2 separate regions of the Homo sapiens genome follow, and region 1 is linked to region 2. The links are contacts of gene promoters, found by promoter capture Hi-C in blood cells and fetal thymus (Javierre and others, 2016). All regions are on one chromosome and are shown on one strand. Each heading gives the region's core, a stretch centred on a gene start or on the middle of the fragment in contact. The rest is flanking DNA. Distances are from core to core; before and after follow the strand shown.

Region 1 (2,700 bases), core at 201-2,700, 440 kb before region 2:
CAGGTCCTATCCCTTCCCAACTCCACCAGAGCAGCTGCCCACCAAGAGGGGTATCAGTGCCAGGCCAGGCTCCCAGTTCAGGGGGAGTCACAGCCCCCTGTGCTACCTCTACTCTGTCACACCTGGCCCAGGCCCATGGTGAGGACAGGGGCTGCTGAAGGCACAGAGAAAGGGCTGGAGCCAGACATTCTTCACCTACTGTGGGCCACATAGGCCTATCTCCAGAGAGGGCATCGGACCCAGATGGCACCACAGTGTGTGGCCAGGCTGGGTCGTGCTGCATGTGTGCACAGCCAGGCGGCTCAGCCATTGTATTGCTGCTGGTAGCGCAGGTTGAGCTCCCGCAGCTCCCGTTCCCGCACACGGCGTGACTTATTGGAGCGTGTGGAGCGGCTGGAACGCGTGGACTGGGCAGATTTGGTGCTCTGGCAGCGCGAGGAGGCACGTTTAAGGAGGTTCTGGGATATGGAGCGGTGCAGGTTCTTCATGGATGAAGAGGCAGCCATGCTCACCACCCACGGGTGCCTCAGGGCCTGCAGTGCAGTCATACGGGCTCCAGGGTCCACTGTCAGCAGGCGGTCAATGAAGTCCTTGGCCAGGTTGGACACACTAGGCCAGGGCTAGAGACCAAGGACAAGCATTAGAGTGAGAGCATCTGACACTGCCCACCCCATCTGGATGAGGCCACTACTCAGCAACCCTCCCCTTTCCAGAGAGAGGTGCTGCCCCTCCTCTCATGTAGCACTTGGGGCCTCCCCGCCCAACGCTGGCTCAGGCTGAACAAGGGCTGCTCTCCAGGTGATGGAGTCTGGCAAGGAAGGAAAGGACCTGTGCACTCTCCCAGGGAGCAAATTCTATGGTGCACTGGACCCAAAGCCTGGCTCAGGGAGATGGCCTCTGCCAAGACCCCCCCGAACTTGTCCCAGGAGTATCATAACTCAGGGGACTGTTAGAGAATGATTCAAACTTTCCCACCACATCCTAAGTCAGATTGAAGCTCCAATCTCTGGATGACCAGGATCAGGCTACTTAAAGGGGAACTTCCTAGTCCTTACAGAGAAGATCCAACCTCTCTCCAACTGCCGAAGCAGTGGCAGAAGACCACTGCTCCCTGCCTCTGCCTCCCGGCATGGGGAGGAAAGGAAACAATTCAAGGCAACTAGATTTCCCAGTCGGCTGAGGGCAGGCGATCCCGGGACCAGGAAGGAACCAGGACCCTTCTCAGTGGCACCCTCTGGCCCGCATTACTTCTCTAAGCCACAAAGGGCTCCTGGCAGTGCTGTGCGCCAGCCTCATTTTAGTACATTCTGTCCCCTGGGAGGAACTCCATAAAGCCCACTCTGCCACATGCACCCCGGGCTGCCTCATCTCAGCCCCGAACCCAGCAGCTGTCTGTCTCAGGGCCTCAGGTTGTACGGCTGTCTTCACCTGACTGGATCCTCAGGTTCTCAGGGTAAAGGACACTTGCTCAGACTCCCTCTTAGCCCCCAGTGCTTCCAGCAATTATTCCAGCTGTAACGTGAGACTGCAATTTCATGTTCGTTTAGTATTCCCATGAGATCATGCTGAGCTGGATGAGCCCGTGCCTGGTGCTGCGCATACAGGAAGCACTCAGTAGGCACAGGCTCAGACAGTAAACAACCCACGGTGCTGCCGGATGGGTGCCCTTTCCTGGAGCTGCTTCCAGGCCTTGGGGCTCAGCCAGGTGAGTCCTTGCGTCCCTGCATCTCCTAGGAACACTTCTGGCACGGGCTCTGAGGCTCCCCCAAGGATAGGCAGCTAGGACCTTTCCTGAGCCTGCTGCAGATGACTCAACAGGGATGCTAACGATCCCCTCACTTTCCTTCCTGCCAGGTGAGGTCTGCCTGTTCCACCCATGGTACCCTTCACCACCCATGGTACCCTTCACCTTGAGGAACCCCTGAACATGCCCTCCAGGGGGTTCAGGAGGATCTGAGAGACCACCTTCAGGGCAGGTGCACAGCCATCTAGCAGACACACACACTCACTGACTACTGCTACTCCCAGTCTGGCTCGCCTGACCTCCAACTCTTTCCCTACCCCCTTCCCCACTGCCACAGAGGGATGAGGCAGGGAGAACACGCTTCCACCGTCCTGAGGAAGGCCTGGGGCTACCTGCAGCTGCTGTCTTCACCCACTCTTTGGAAGGTTATTCCAAGTTTTACTGAGCTGAAGTGGGAGCAACAGGGGAACCATATTCCCAAACACACCTAACAGGGTCATCCTCATCAGTGGGCCAGCAGCACCCAGTGACTCCTGGGGAGATGCTGGCCCCCAGGAGGAGGAAAGTCAGGGTCCAGGAGCATGCAGCCAACGAAGGCCCATAGATGCCTTACTATCCAAGGGCTGTGGGTGGGCGCAGAGAGCAACAGCCCTCCCCGACAGGCAGGTAAGTCTCCTGGGGGCTTGTGTAGTTCAAGATTCATATTGAGGGCCAGGCGTGGTGGCTCATGCCTGTAATCCCAGCACTTTGGGAGGCTGAGGCAGGTGGATCACAAGGTCATGAGATCAAGACCATCCTGGCCAACATGGTGAAACCCCGTCTCTACTAAAAATACAAAAATTAGTCGGGCGTGGTGGCGTGCCTGTAGTCCCAGCTACTCAGGAAGCTGAGGCAGGAGAATTGCTTGAACCTGAGAGGCGGAGGTTGCAGTGAGCCAAGATCGCACCACTGCACTC
Region 2 (2,700 bases), core at 47-2,546:
ACAGGCGTGAGCCACCGTGCCTGGCCACCCTTTATCTTCTTTTCTTTTTGAGACAGGATCTTGCTCTGTCGCTCAGCCTGGAGTGTGGTGATGCAGTCATAGCTCACTGCACTCTTGAATCCCTGTGCTCAAGCCATCCTCCCACCTCAGCCTCTACTACAGGCATGCACCACTACACCCAGCTATTTTTTTATTTTTTGTAGCAACGGGGTCTCACCATGATACCCAGGCTGGTCTTAAACCCCTGGCCTTGTGATCCTCCCACCTTGGCCTCTCAAAATGCTGGAATTACAGGTGTGAGCCACCATACCTGGCCCCCTTCATCTTTTTTCCACTGCCTTGTGCCAACCCAGTTTGTGCACTGGGGCCTTGCGATCCTCTCAAAGCTGATTCAGCCTGCATTCCTTTCCCAGATGGACACGTGTGTGATAAACAGCTCTGCAGTGGGGTGAGGGAAGGCAGGGGCAGCAGGGTCCTGTATGTCCTGCCATCTCCACAAAAGGGCAGTCCTTACCCCAGCCTTGTGCTGATGAGACCAGGCATAGACAGTCCTGACGACACAGGGCGGAAGGGAGCAGCCATTAGTGCTAATGAGGCAGGCGGCCTGAAAGCTTTGTACTCTGCAGTGGCTCGCCCACCCAGGGAACAGTTCGTTCTGTTTCCTTGGCTTCCAGGAACCCTAGGCAGAAAGGGGTTTGGGGACAGGAGCAGGAGTGGGCGGTCTTGGAGAAACCTGGAGGGAGAAAGGGAGGGGAGGACCAGAAATGTAGTCAGGAGGGCCTAGGATTGGTTAGGTGGGCTTTTCCTTCCCCTTTCCCTCCAAAGAAACCCAGGTTCTGGTTCTGCACCTACCCCTGCCCAACAGTGGCCATTGGCCCATCACCCGCTCCAATGTCCTTGACCCGAATTCTTGGAAGCACAGGAAACAACATGCCACATAGGGGTTGAGTAAGCATCTCTGGGGCCACAAATTAAATTAAGCTTTCAGGGCCGCCTGCCTTGTTATTGCTAATGGTTCTAGCCCTGCTCAGCTCCTAGGTCCCTGTCCTGTGGAAATTTGTGGACCCTGGGCACCCTCTCTTGCTCCCAAATTTTAATCGGCTCCTGGAAACCTCACCCCAAATTGGAGATAGGCACTCCTCTTGTAGAACAAAAGGCTCAGGTTCAGGGAGTGAGGGCCTGAACTGTGCCCCCACCCTCCAGGAAGGGTCCTTCACGGCCTGGCTGCAGGGATCAGTCACGTGTGGCCCTTCATTAGGCCCTGCCATATAAGCCAAGGGCACGGGGTGGCCGGGAACTCTCTAGGCAAGAATCCCGGAGGCAGAGGTGAGTCCTCAGGTTGGGCAGGGACTCCTCCTCTCTGTGGGGTCTCTATCTGGGCACCTAGAGGGGACTCCAAGGATAAGGAGGGACTAAGTGGTACATCTTCCTGCTGAGCCAGGCCATGCTGACCGCAGCGGTGCTGAGCTGTGCCCTGCTGCTGGCACTGCCTGCCACGCGAGGAGCCCAGATGGGCTTGGCCCCCATGGAGGGCATCAGAAGGCCTGACCAGGCCCTGCTCCCAGAGCTCCCAGGTCAGTGTGAGCAAGGGTGGGACTGGGCGGGGCCTGAATACCCTCTGGCCACAAATAGTCTCCCCTGGCATAAACCCTCTTTCTCCCTTCCCAAACCCTCCCCTGGGAGGTGGGTGCTTTGTGCATGGGGGTTCCTGCCCTCACATCCTCTGCCCCAGGCCTGGGCCTGCGGGCCCCACTGAAGAAGACAACTGCAGAACAGGCAGAAGAGGATCTGTTGCAGGAGGCTCAGGCCTTGGCAGAGGTAACTGCTCAGGGAAAAGGGTAAGGTGGTGGCCCTTGGGAGGGGGCATTGGGTATTAGCTCCTCTCCCCAGCTCCAAACTCCCTCACCAGCGACGACACTACCGACCACCCCTTCCCATGCTCCACTGCCATCCTGCACAGGTTGGGACAGGTAAGATCCCTGGATCTGTCTTTAGAGGCCTGTGCTGGTTCCCCACCCCTGCAGGTACTAGACCTGCAGGACCGCGAGCCCCGCTCCTCACGTCGCTGCGTAAGGCTGCATGAGTCCTGCCTGGGACAGCAGGTGCCTTGCTGTGACCCATGTGCCACGTGCTACTGCCGCTTCTTCAATGCCTTCTGCTACTGCCGCAAGCTGGGTACTGCCATGAATCCCTGCAGCCGCACCTAGCTGGCCAACGTCAGGGTCGGGGCTAGGGTAGGGGCAAGGAAACTCGAATAAAGGATGGGACCAACCCCAAGGCTGTGGTTATTTCAAACGTGGCCGTCAAAGGAGGGAGGGTTCATGGAGGGGGTGGGAGTGTCACCAAGCCAAGAAACCACACATACTCTTATCCCAGGGCCTGGGCTACCCTATCATAGGAGGCACATACACGGGCGCTTTTAGGGGTCCTGGTGCCCCTGGGAAAAATAGAGAAGAGCCGCACTCCAGCTTTCGAAAATCTTGTACAGCAAGTGCGGGGAACGCAGGACGCAGCGTGGCACAGGGGCTATCACTCCTGGCTAACAAATAAGCCTTAGGCTCCAGGGCTTGCTGCTACTTCCACGCAAAGCCTGCCCCTCATCCTGTTACCAGAGGGAAGGCCAGGAGTGTGCGTTGTTCAGGTCCTTAGCGTTTCGAACAAAGAATTGAACAAAACCCAGAAAGTAACAAACGAATGACA

Evidence for each region. The method cuts DNA at HindIII sites, captures the fragments that hold promoters and counts their contacts. A CHiCAGO score of 5 or more calls a contact.
Region 1: a fragment that was not itself captured here is called in contact with the fragment with the promoter of AGRP in region 2 in 4 of 17 cell types (fetal thymus, naive B cells, activated CD4 T cells and 1 more); the score reaches 6.8 in fetal thymus.

Annotation. Positions count from the first base shown.
Region 1 is chr16:67,925,245-67,927,944 of GRCh38, reverse strand. PSKH1 (protein serine kinase H1) reads right to left here. Exons shown (of 3, transcript NM_006742.3): 3 at 1-620. The coding sequence ends at 303. Among named protein-coding and RNA genes, the nearest start is that of CTRL, 5.3 kb to the left of the region's middle. RefSeq lists an enhancer at 472-973. The HindIII fragment of the contact is 3,315 bases long and covers 1-2,700 here.
Region 2 is chr16:67,482,143-67,484,842 of GRCh38, reverse strand. AGRP (agouti related neuropeptide) reads left to right here and starts at 1,296. Exons shown (of 4, transcript NM_001138.2): 1 at 1,296-1,326; 2 at 1,442-1,574; 3 at 1,733-1,818; 4 at 2,025-2,272. The coding sequence starts at 1,445. The coding sequence ends at 2,207. It overlaps ATP6V0D1-DT (ATP6V0D1 divergent transcript), which reads right to left. Exons shown (of 4, transcript NR_184227.1): 2 at 515-733. The HindIII fragment of the contact is 2,406 bases long and covers 984-2,700 here.